Regions from separate parts of the Homo sapiens genome. Here region 2 is linked to region 1. The links are contacts of gene promoters, found by promoter capture Hi-C in human tissues and cell types (Jung and others, 2019). All regions are on one chromosome and are shown on one strand. The core of a region is centred on a gene start or on the middle of the fragment in contact, and the rest is flanking DNA. Distances in the headings are between cores, read along the strand shown.

Region 1 (6,758 bases), core at 542-3,041:
GTTCTAGTAGAGTGACAATAGTTAACAATAATTTATTGTATATTTCACAATAGTTAGAAGAAAAGATTTGGAATGTTCCCAACACCAAGAAATGATAAATGTTTAATGTGATGGAGATCCTAATTACCCTGATTTGATCATGACACATTGTATGCATGTATCAAAATGTCACATATGCCCATAAAGATGTACAATTATTATGTATCAATTTTTTAATTTTTTGTTAAAAAAGGGCTTAATGACTGCAAAGCACAAAGCAAAAGTTGAATAAACGGGAGCCACTGTTAGCAGCACCAGCAACATTTTCCTGAGTGATGTTTTGGAAATTGGACATGCAGTTTGTATGGTAACCATATTTTTCAAGCCGGAAAAAACTATGACTTATGGGATCAGATAGGATATTTGGAAGTTGGATTGCTGAGAAACTGAACATATCTATTACTCTACTAGCTAGCGCATCCATAGCTCATTCTATTTTCTAAAAAGTTATGAGCCATTAGCTGCAGGAAATATTTCAGCTGAATTTGGCATGTTTGTCATTTTTAACTTCACTTTGGCAAACAAGGAAGAGTGGAAAACACAAAGCTGGATTTCCCAGAGCTGTGTTAAGTCATTTGAAGCAAACAAAATTGCAGTTTATAATTTAACCAATGCATTAACCAACATTTGCAAACATTAATCCCTAAGTCTGAAGGTTTACTTTAAATGCAAGACAGATTTGAAGTATTAACAAAAAAGAAAAAAAATAGCAATGTTCTTAAAAAAAAACTTTGCATGGAATATATATTTTTATAGGAAGACTATATTTTAAATAATCTAGTTATTTGTGCCTTAAAAAGAATAAATTATAATTCATAAGGCATTAGATGACTATATATACATCAGCTACATTTACCACTTCAGATATATTTACATTCTCAGTGCAATAATTGATAGCTAATCAAATATATCTCAAATATTTTACAAAATTCTCCAAGTAAAATTAATTCTACATCACCAAAAAAATGTAATGCATATGCCATTAAACACTTTGGATAAGAAAAAAGACGCTGTTAAATCTAACTCCAAAAATATATGGGAATTTGATTTTGAGTTTCATCATTCAAATGATTGATTTTATTTTACTAGGTATTTTGAAGACATGACAAATTATGAGAAGACAATCTAAAACAAAGCCCACAGTTTTTTGCTTGTTTGTTTATTTTAGTAAAGCTATACTTTTTTTTTAATTCCATGGATATAGTGGTAAATTTAAGCAGTGCGTGGTGGAGAAAAGGGAATATTTAACAAAGTGATAGCTCTTACAAATAATACTTTGTACTAGACACTGATTAGGAAATGTTTGAGAATTGCAAAAAAAAACTGCACACAGGGCTGTGTTAGGTTGGCTAGAAAAATGACTTACTTTCTGCATATAGGAAGAGATTTGTTCTAGGTATCATACAGTCCAGTTACAAGGTACATCTTCTGAGAACTAGAATCTTCCTTCTATCATGTTTAACAATCCTACATCTTCCCCCAACTCCCTCTGCTTTTAGAAAACTGTTACCCATAATTGGCCAACATATTAAACACATTTCAGTCTTCTTTAAGTGCATATACTCACCTCGTCTTTTCCACTATTTGGCACTCTGCAATACACTTCCCCTGTTGATGGGTCGTAAGAATCTATATATGAGCTACAAGGTAAAAATTTTCCATCTATGAAGTTTTCCAGCATCAAAAGTGCGTTTGTTCCAGCCATAGCAAGGAAAAATTCTGCCTTTCCTCTTTACGACTGAGCACTCAGGTTGTCCCCACCACTGTCTGGACTCCTGAGTGAGCCTCCCCCTTCCCAGCCCCCATCTTCCCCTTTACCAATCAGTGAATGTGGGAGGGCACCTGACGCTCTCAGAGAGCATTCCAGTCTCCAAACTCAGAACTAAGAGAGTGGCTGAATGTTTCACAGACTTCTAGTACATTACCTGACATGGATAATTGTGTGTAAAAGTAACAGCTACTTACTTATGTGTTCATAGCCCTTTAAATCATCAGAAGGCATCTGTGCATGTGATTTTATTGGGTTCACACCGTAAACTGTTCATTGCTCAAACACTGATTGGATGCCAGGCCCCAAAGCAAGTCCTTTACATGAATTTACTCGTTTATTCCACACAACAATCCTATATGAAGTAACCATTACTTCCTCTCTTTTATAGAAGAAACTGAGCCTTGGAGAGGTTAGACCATTTTTCCAAGGTCACATAGTTAGCAGGGGATGAACTGTAGCCCTTTAATCTCCAAATCATATACTTTTTCCTCAATGCATCACTGCTTACCCTGCAGAGGTAACTGAAGACAGATGCCCTCTTTCCGTGGCTCATCTGTGTTTCTTTACCTTGGCTGCCCTCTCTTGGAAGAGCTGTCTCTCCATCCCAAAACCGGGGCCACAGTGGCTGCTCACATCTTCCTAGATGTGCCATGGAGATAAAGACAAGCCAAAAACATGTGTGACACATATAGCAAGGGCTTCAGATCCCTGATGTAGCTGAGAATTTCTACAAATTGGTAAGAGAAATGAGCACCCCAACAGAAAAGATAAGCAAAGATACAAAAAAGCAATCCATAGGAAAAGGAACACAATTGGCTAATGAATATATTAACAATGTTCAGCCTTGTTGTTAAGCAAGGAATGTGAAATACAGAGGTGGCCTGATTTGCCAATCATACTGGAGAGCATTTTTAAAGATTGAGAACATCTACTCTGTGAGGATGTGGAGAATCATCCCTAGTCCATAGGCGGGAGGGTTCACAGAACACTGCTTGGGGCAATTTGTCAGGGTCTGGTCAATTTCTCTTCTAGGAATCTCTCCTACAGAATTACGTGCTCATGAACAAGTACATAAGTCACAGGACATCCTTTTTTATCATAATTTAAAAATCAAAACAACCTAAAGTCCATCAATTGGAGAATATTAGAGTATAATTGTTATATTCTTAACAGGGAATACTACTTAGACATTAGAAGGATGCATTGTTAAGTGAAAAAATAAAACTAGTGAATAATATATACAGCATAGTTTCTTTGGCTATTTACATGGTTGACAGGAAGCCGTTTTAAACTGCTTGGATATTTTATGGCAAGCCTATATTACTTTTATAATTATGATTTATAGTTATAATTCAGTTGAAGGTTAGGTACCAATATTCTAAAATTCATTGATCACATGAGGGCACTTGCTGGCCGTGCACCTCCTTAGGCCCTCTCTGCTTCCATCTTTATTGGTCTCTAGATATTCTCCAAAATTCTTGCTGAGACTTCTGACAAGCATGGTGTGGCTGATTCTGGGAGGCCCAGAGCAGCTGGAGTCTGGAGCTGGCGCCGTTGCCTGTCGCTGGAGAGTCGCTGACAGGGACTGGAGACAGAAGGTAGTCTCAGGCTTTTTCTGGTGCTGCCCACGGTCAGGTCAGCTGGAAACAGAATGAGAGAAATACGCAGGTCCCAGCCCTGGCACCACAGAGTGAAGTACCAAGAAGTGAGCTTGGTGCTGAGAGACAGTGAGTACCACCCGGTGTGTGCATAAAGACTTCTGTAGCCCATCTTCCTGGGTCTCCAACAACTCTGCCTAATGTTGATGGACTCATCAGAATGTTTGTCTTTTTGTACAGAGTGCAAAAGATTCTAATGGGAGGACTATGGAAGGGAGATCTTTTTGAAGAAAGGACTTTACCCAGGATAGCATGAGAGAGGAATTTTCTGCCACGTGACAGTAGAAGAGGACAGAAGCCGGACACGGTGCTTCTAAAGAGTGCCTGGTGCTGATCAGAACTCCCCACACAAGATCAGTCCCAGTGGCAGAGCAGGCGTGTCTGTCAGTTACAGTGGCCTCCTTGTGCCATTTTCTTGTGCCATTGGCTGCTCAAGCTGGGCCTTCGCTGGTTTTTCTTTTTCTTTTTTTTTTTTTGAGACAGAGTTTCACTCTTGTTGCCCGGGCTGGAGTGCAATGGCATGATCTCAGCTCACAGCAACCTCTGCTTCCTGGGTTCAAGCAATTCTCCTGCCTCAGCCTCCCAAGTAGCTGGGATTACAGGTATGTGCCACCACGCCTGGCTAATTTTGTATTTTTAGTAGAGACGGGGTTTCACCATGTTGGTCAGGCTGTTCTCAAACTCCTGACCTCAAGTGATCCGCCCTCCTCAGCCTCCCAAAGTGCTGGGATTACAGGCGTGAGCCACTGTGCCTGGCCTCGCTGGTTTTTCATAATGTACTTGGCCTTCCCCCACTTCCCCCTGTCAGCCCTTTTCTGTCCACAGTGCAACCATTTGATCCCCACCTGCAGGTCAACCACAGAGATGACTCTGGAATCAGAGCTCAGCTGAGCTGGGAGACTTTCATCCTGGAGGACAGAGCATGGGCCTCATTCAGAGTCTGGTCATGTCAGTTGACCCCAGTCCTGATACCTGAGCTCTGACATGCCTTCAAGGCCTTTTCTCTAAGTTGGCACCAACGTTTCTCCTGTCGGTTTCCCTTGAAGAGACATGAAATCCTATATCTGGGCCTAGTGGCTGAGAACCTACTTCTAGGTAGTTCTACCTGCTTCACTGGACATGTGGGTATCACCTGCTCCTGAATTATTCTGGCTGGCTCCATCTGCTCGCCAGTGTGTCCTGCTGAATGCAGATCTGTTCTTACCACATCCCTGTAACAGCATTCTGACCCATGGGTGAAACGTACTCCCATTTGCGGTCACAGAATCCACCCCCCACCACATCCCAAGGGGTGGATTCACTGCCAGGTCCTGCACAGTGAGGACAGGGGACTCAAGACCTTGAGTGCAACTGAGAAAAAATTATAAATGGGAGGTATTAAGTATACTAATATTCTAAGAGAACTAGTTGCTCTAGAATATTACAAAAGAGAATAGGGTGTTTTTATCTAATACAACAAAAGTTATTCTCTTTAAAAGGGGAAAGACAATCCTGATTTAGGGGGCCCCAGGTGTACTGGAGTTTTGTTTTTACCCACAGTGGTAAACAAAAATCACAGCATGGTAGCATGAGGCAGCTGGGAGGGGTACGCTAGACTCAGGAGAAACACAGGATGGGGAACAGAGAGTGCCATGAGTGAAATGGAGCCATCAGAGTTCATTCATTTGGAGAAGGATAGGGGAGGATGGATACAGAAGCATGGAGAGGAGGTTGAAAGACAGACAAGATGGTAATTCCAAATAAATACCTGTTCTGGGGCGTCATTTTCCTTCTGTCTCCACAAGAACCTTGCTCACTGGATTATCATCTAACTTTTCATTCTTCTCCTCTCTCCTGGCGCTTTCAGCCTTTAAATGAGCTCCTCTCTCCAATATCATATCATATAAACAAAATAATATAATAAACAAAAATTTAAAAGAACTTTCTCTGGCTCTCTGGCCTCTGTCCTCTCCTCTATAATCCTTCTCTCCTACTGAAAACATTACACAGAATGAATGAAAATGAAAAGTGCTGTTGTTATAGGAATAACTACCCTCACTTATATGTGGCATGATGTTGTTCTCTTGCCCATTTGCCAGCCCCTCAAACCCCAATCTTCTTAGCCTCACTCCTAGGAGGAACTTTTGTGCACAATCGCATGTCAGAATTATCCTATGCAAGGTTATCAATATGAAACACTAGAGGTTTCTTTGGTTGCATGTGCTCCACTCTGAGGAATCTGGGGACGTGCCCTTGCCCTCCAAGGTTAGCGCTCAGAATGGGATCACTGTCTTGGGATGATGGTTGCAGGATCCCCCAAGAGATAGAGCTGAAGGCTAGAAAAACTGAGTGAGGAGAGGAACAAGGTATAAGAGAGAAATTCAAGAAGTATGTATATGGGATTCTGTTTCAAGTGTGAACAGATAAGACCTTAACACGTATGCTTATATTAAACTCAGCCATTTTGGGGAAAATGCTAGGTGTCCCCTGTGGTGGCCACCCTAATGTTCTCTAACATACAGTTCTCCTCCTGAGTACTCCTCAGCCCCTTTGCAATGAGGTGGGGCTGTTTGGATAGTTCTGGCCAGGGTCTTTGAGTAAACGCCAAGCCTGCTGGGGACTGTCCACTGTCTCTCCCACTTCCATATAGACCAGGAAGGCTGTGTGTTCCAGGTGGCAGGTACAGGATGAAGAACCTCTGTCAGCCTGGACTGCTGAGTCACTCTATGGAGTACAGTCTTATTATGTGGTGATAATTAGCATGAAATAAACATGTGTTTTCCTATACCACTGTATTTGGGGGTCAATTTCTAACCAATCACAGCATAAACAAGCCTACCCTGGTTAGCAGGCATATAACTTTAGTTGGCTAAAATTTCAAAATTTCTCATTGATGCTATCTTGCAGATACCAGTCCCTGGGCACTGATCCCATATCTAGACAGGAATAGAGCCCTCTGTGAGGAGACGTGGCTCTTTTCCTCAAAGAAAAGGGCATGGCCAAATGCGTGGGGCCTGACAGGTGCTACATACCATGTTAATGATGCAACCCTAGCCTACTTCCCTAACCAAGGAGGTGAAAGTCCAGTGCCCAGCTCAGAGGCAAGACTTAAAGCTGTGGTCAGTGGAGGAAGGTAAGAGCCTTCAGAGCGAAGGTGTACACCTCCTCCAGTATGGAAACACTGCTAAGATGACAAAACTTAAACCCAGTTAAGGGGTATTGTATTGATATTACAAAGGCCACAAACTGTGGAAGCAGCTACCATCTGACTCCACAGTCCCTTGATTGATATCTGTGACTGGACACTTGTG
Region 2 (6,656 bases), core at 2,412-4,911, 540 kb before region 1:
GTTCCTTCTTTTGTCAAAGTTGATCTCAGGGACACTGAATGCCTACCATCCCTTCCTTCCTTCCTTCCTTTCTTCCTTCCTTCCTTCCTTCCTTCCTTCCTTCCCTCCCTCCCTCCCTCCCTCCTTTCCTCCTTCCTTCCCTCCTTCCTTCCTTTCTTCCTTCCTTCCCTCCCTCCCTCCCTCCCTCCTTCCTTCCTTCCTCCCTTCTTTCCCAGGACAATACTCCAGGGGTTGCTTCCTCTCTGCACGCACCTTTGCTCCAGCAAATAGACATATCGTATCACCCTCCAAACCCTCTTTTGACCCAGCCTGACTCCTGTGCACCCTGTCTTCCCATTTCCATCAGAGGAAGCATTTCAAAGGGGCCTTCTGTTTTCCACACCTCAGTCACCCTACTAGGAGTAGACAAAACTTCTCAGTGTGTTGAGAGGTCTGGAGAAATGGCCTTTAGGACTGACCGTACTGGAATCCTTGAGCAGATGCCTAAAAATCTCCATGTTTATCAGTTGTGTCAGTTCATTACTACTGTTCCTAGGGAAAAGACATAGGAGATTCTTCCTCTAGTTTGTTGTATTGTTTGTTTTGCTTTGTTTTTGAGGTGGAGTTTCGCTCTTGTTGCCCAGGCTGGAGTGCAATAGCGTGATCTTGGCTCACTGCAAAGTCTGCCTTCCAGGTTCAAGGGATTCTCCTGTCTCAGCCCCCTAAGTAGCTGGGATTACAGGCGCATGCCACCACGCCCAGCTAATTTTATATTTTTAGTAGAGATGGGGTTTCACCATGTTGGCCAGGGTGGTTTCGAACACAGGCGCATGCCACCACGCCCAGCTAATTTTATATTTTTAGTAGAGATGGGGTTTCACCATGTTGGCCAGGGTGGTTTCGAACTCCTGGCCTCAGGTGATCCACCTGCCTCGGCCCCCCAAACTGCTGAGATTACAGGTGTGAGCCACCATGCCCGACTGGAAATTCTTCCTCTAGTTTGTTGTAAATAGCTCTAAAACAATCAAACTTTGGTGATTACCAGGGACTGAAGATGAGGGTGCAGGGAATAAGGGGTGACTGCTTAATGTGTAAGAGGGTTTTCTTTGGGGTGATGAAAATATTTTGAAACCAGTTAGAAGGGTTGATTGCCTAACACTGTGGATATAGTGAATGCCACTGAATTTTATACTTTACAATAATTAATTTTATATTATGTGAATTTTATCTCAATAAAAAAGCTATTAAGGAAAAAAGCTTATCTAATGCTCTCAAGCAAAAAAAAAAAAAAAAAAAGCTCTACAATTAACAAAAAATAAGCCAGACCTGGTGGCATGTTCCCGTAGTCCTAGCTACTTGGGAGGCTGAGGGAGGATCCCTTGAGCCCAGAGGTTCTAGGCTGCAGTCAGCTATGATGGTGCCACTGCATTTCAGCCTGGGTGACAGAGCAAGACCCTGTCCCATGTCTCATATATATATATATGATTTGGAAAATTGTTGTTTGCACATGAGGCACTGAACATTGAAAACTCTCTCTCTCTCTGTATGTGTGTATATATATATATATATATATATATATATATATATATACTCTCTATGTATATATATAAACTCTATCTCTTTCTCTCTCTGTATATATATAGAGAGTATATATATAGAGAGAATATATATAGGTATATATATATTCTATATATACCTATATATATAGAATAGATATATATAGATATGTCTAGTCTATATATATCTATATATAGAATATATATATAGAATATATATATCTATATATAGATATATATATAGAATATATATATCTATATATAGAATATATATATAGAATATATATATTCTATATATCTAGTATATATAAATATATATTTATATAAATATATATCTAGTAAAAATATATAATATACATATATGCATATATATTTCTGATAGGCTACTCATTGGGGAATGAAACGAATAATTAATTAGATAGGCTGGTTCTTGTACAGATGAACAGTCTACTGCACATTTTGTTTTCTTGATAAATAGAATGTTGGGCCATGAAGATCCAGTAATACAAATTTTCTTAGTATATAACTTCGTCTAGTGTCTGTTATTCATTCACATTAGGCCCATAGGGAGGAAGATAAAACAATTTTTTAAGATATATGAAAAAGTACATTTCATTATATTCCTATTAATCAATTTGGATAATTGTTGTTTGCACATGAGACACTGAACATTGAAAACTCTATAAAAGTGAATTATATAAAATATGGAAAGAAGAGAAAGAAAAAAGCTATAATTATTTAGCAATTTCCAAAATATTTCAGCCTCAGTTTCAGGCCTCCTCCTTTTAAAGTGGAGAAGAGCTGCACACTGGGGACTAATTTGCATTGATAACATGCTGTGCCTTAATGGACCCTCTGCAAAAGCTGAGACTGTGAATGGGATCAATAGTGCAGATTCTTTACTAAGGCTTTTTAATGCATTTAACCACAACTGGGTATTAGTCTTAATAAGCTTTCCAAGCTTTGACTATTATTGTTCCTTAGAGTATTAATAAGAAATACAGAATTGCGCATTGTATTCCCATTAAATAAGCAAATTCATATTAGAAATTATTATGAAGCTAATTATTTAGGAAAAGAAAAGCCATGCTCCTGGTTGGGAAATCACGCCATTATACTGCCAGAAAATGAAAATACCCTTCATTCTTGGAACATCTTCTCTGAAGCAATGTCTGAGTATATTTCTCCAATCTAAATCAATTATTTTGCTTCTCGGCATGAGGGTGAGCAAAGTCACCTACCTGCATGAATTTGGCCTTTCTGGGTTGAGAGGCTTCCCCAAGGCCTGGAGGAGACCTGCAAGGCTGGCCAGTGGGTTGTTACGGAGTTGAACTCTTCCACTGGGGGTTCACTGTTGCAGCTGCCATTGACTGTCTACTGAGCACTGGGCATGTCTCATGTACTTATTCATCCCTCACAAACAAAAACCCTACTTTGCAAACATGAAAACAGTACACACATCTAGAAAGTGGGAGCTCAACTTCAAACCCAAGTCGATACAACTCTTAAATCCTTTATTCTTTCTAAGGCACGAACCTGTCTCTGCTGGGAATTAGCAAAAGGAAAAATTCCTTTCTGGCTTTAAATATGCAGGAATGAGAGTAGCGCAGAGGCTTCCTATTTTCTGAGAGGTTGGCTGGGTCTACACTCAGTTACCACAGAGGACCTGGGAGGTGAAAAGAGATTCTGTATTGGTCTCTTCCTTCATACATTAGTTGAACTTGAAAAGAGAAGTAGAGTCATTAAATTGGTTACCTGACACTTTCTGGGAAGAGGTAAATATTATCACAGTTTTTCATTTAGACAATGCCAGCCCAGAAATATTAAGAAGTATCTCTCATAGTCAAGGAAGTGGTAATACGGTGCAAGTAAGAAGCTGGGTTGAACTGACATTTTAGATTTCTTACTGGGCTTTAATTGCTACACCATATTTTTAAACATTAAAATGTCTCCGAAGTGTTCGGGCAAGAAATTTTTAAACATCAAAATGCAATTCTCTGCCTATTAACAGTCATTTAATTTGGAAGTATCTAATTGAGTTTTCAGATTTTAAAGAACTTACGGACTGGAAACTCATATGCCATATTTCAGCCCCAAGCTAAATTTTTATGGGCAAGTTATAACCTTTCTAATAGACCTTGAACCACTGTGACTTTTCCTTCAGGTATAACTACAATGATCCTTTGCTTGAGTTTGATCTCCACCTGGACTTGAATCTGTAATGAGTCATCAGCCAGAGTCTATGTTTCCATCTCAGGTAGACAGCTGGGTGAAAAGGTCAAAGAAAGCTGATCTTTTTTAAAATGGTCCCAGCAAAAATATCTCATTTAAACTCTTCTGGCCAGGTGCGGTGGCTAACGCCTGTAATCCCAGCACTTTCGGAGGCCGAGCTGGGTGGATCACGACGTCAGGAGTTCAAGACCAGCCTGGCCAAGATGGTGAAACCCCATCTCTACTGAAAATACAAAAATTAGCCAGGCGCACTGGCACACGCCTGTAATCCCAGCTACTCGGGAGGCTGAGGCAGGGAATTGCTTGAACCAGGGAGGTGGAGGTTACAGTGAGCCCAGATCATGCCACTGCACTCCAGCCTGGGCAACGGAGCGAGACTCTGTCTCACAAAAAATAAATAAATAAAAGAAAAGAAAAATAAATAAATAAAAAATAAAATCTGTAAGTTGGCATTTTCCTTTCTTCTTTGTATCAGTGCCTGTGCTTTGATGAACAGGAGAGAATAAACATTCGGTTTACATAAAATTTGTTAATGTATTTGGCATCAGGGCTTATGAAGCTTCAGAAAACAAAGAGGTAATAATATTATACTTAAAATGTTAGATTTTATGTCAGATACTGTGGGCATGTTTTTGAACGAGCGTGACTTGATACGTAGTCAAGGGACACTTTCATATAAAAGAGGATGGTAATAAGTCACAGGCAAATTAGTGGTGCACACAGATTTCTACGATTAAGCTTAATCCAAATGTTCCTACAAGAAATGAACTGCAAACAAGCAGGATTCAGGCTTCCAAAGATGTAACCATCCAAAATGCCTACTACAAAATAGTGTGTCTCAGTCTTCATAGTTTTATTGTAGTAATTTGAAGGATTAAATTACTACATTTAAGTGGAACTTCCAGAACAATATCTGACAAGTATTGGAGGCTGTATAAATATTTGTTGAGTAAATGCATGAATAGATGAATGAATAAGAAAGTGACAGCATCAAGCAAGTTCCTTTTGTGTTGCATTGACTTTAAAAAGAGTTTTTAAGTCTGAAAGTGCTCTCAAGGTGAATATGACTGCACTGCAGAAACAATTCTTGAGCAAAATAAGTTTTCTATGAAAGAATTCCTGCATGGAAAATTACTGTTGGTATCCTCAGAATTTGTTTGACAGAAACACCAAGGAATTTCAAGGGTAAAGACAACCTGGTTTTTAGCCTCAAGAAGGACAGGTATAGGTTTCCAGGTATGAGGTTATGAATGCGAAGGAGAAGCACCTGACATGAGGGATATCTTCACACTTGGATGCAGCCAAATGCCAGTAATATTTCTGAAAGCTTTTCCTGTGGACCGATGAAGGTGTAGAAGCTGTGGGTTCTACAGAGGACCCAGGACCTATGCCAGGACCTAGATGATGAAGCCACTATGAGGCAATTCATAGTTGCCTGGAAAGGCACTGAATCCCTAAAACTGAATATGTGGCGTGTAATAGGAACTGCATCATGGATTTTGAAATCAGACTTCTTGAATTTGAATAAAAACTCAACCAGTAGCTATGATTCTTACTTGACTTTGTTGAGACTCAGTCTCTTTGTGTGAAAAATGAAGGTAATAAAACCTACTCTATAAAGGAGTGAGTGACTATATGTAAAATGACTAGTCTCTTAGTGATTAGCTGGATAAATAGTAACAATTGACATTATTGAACAAACACACTTCTACTACTTTAGACAGTTACACATTGTTTATTGTGCATTTACTATAAGCCAGATGTATGCTAGGTATCATATTTAGTGTTGATTAAACAAATATGGCCTCCATTCTTACAGAGTTTACAGTCTAAGAGGGAAGATAGATATTAAACCAATAATCTTTAGGCAGAAAATTCAGAAGATATAAAATGGCCTTTGGCGATCCAACAATCCAAGCATTACCATTTCCAACTATTTGTGACTCTTTTCTTTCCCTGGTCTCCTTCTCTTCTCATGGACTGTAGGGAATTTCAGAAGAAATGTAGGACTATTCACTTCTCTAGTTGTAACAGGTTTCAAAGTTACAGGCTTCAAGAAAGCTTAATTTGGGTTATTCAATATCTTGATCAATATTTTTATTGCAGAGAATAGAATCTTCTCCAGCTAGCATAAGCAGAATGGTATGTCCTAGGAAGTATAAATAATTCCCAAACTATTGAGAGATCTGAGGAAATGGGTTCAGGCTGATTTGCCAGAAATGAGCCTCAAACCACACTGCAGAACCAGACCATTAAGGATGGTGCGTAGAGGTGACAGATATTGATCAGGAAGCTATGAAATAAAGAAATCGCCACCTTACCTTCCAGGTGCAAATCCACGCCTCTCTGCTACAGTCTACACCAGCAAAGTGAGTGCCTGTACCCTGCCTTTATCCCCATGTGACTCAGTTCTAGATCAAAGTTTTGTGTGCATGCATCTAACTGGAAGTGCCCAAAGCACATGGAGAGCTGCACTGCAGACGATTGGCAGATGTGGTATCAGCTTTCTGGCCTTGCAACTTTCACAGGGGCCTGGAGTGGGTAAAGAGCAAGGCAATGCATAGCATCTATCATAAAAGTAACTGGTAGGAACAGGCTAATTGATTGATCTAGGGCATCTCTTTATAAGAAGAGCAGATTCTCTTGCCTCTTCAACCATTTCATTGGCTTCATTGCAGAGGAGCTACCCTTTTTAGCTCTTTAGTACCCTGATTCAGTTCAACCTATAATAGATGTTGTCATTCTCTGGGTCTTGCAATCCTTTTGTAGTAAATGCCCGGCCTGAGAGAGGTGATTTATTAAGAGAATGCTATCAGCATCAGATGTCAGTTTTTTTATGTGCATGGAGTTTCATTACCAGTTTTGCCATTTGCTAGTTAATATGACTTG

The links. The method cuts DNA at HindIII sites, captures the fragments that hold promoters and counts their contacts. A contact is called where the count stands out against the background at its distance.
Region 2: a fragment that was not itself captured here is called in contact with the fragment with the promoter of ALDH8A1 in region 1 in 1 of the 25 tissues and cell types used here (adrenal gland).

The regions. Positions count from the first base shown.
Region 1 is chr6:134,948,310-134,955,067 of GRCh38, forward strand. It overlaps ALDH8A1 (aldehyde dehydrogenase 8 family member A1), which reads right to left and starts at 1,792. Exons shown (of 7, transcript NM_022568.4): 1 at 1,607-1,792. The coding sequence starts at 1,744. The HindIII fragment of the contact is 10,358 bases long and covers 1-6,758 here.
Region 2 is chr6:134,402,752-134,409,407 of GRCh38, forward strand. No RefSeq gene overlaps it. Among named protein-coding and RNA genes, the nearest start is that of LINC01010, 32 kb to the right of the region's middle. The HindIII fragment of the contact is 3,600 bases long and covers 1,862-5,461 here.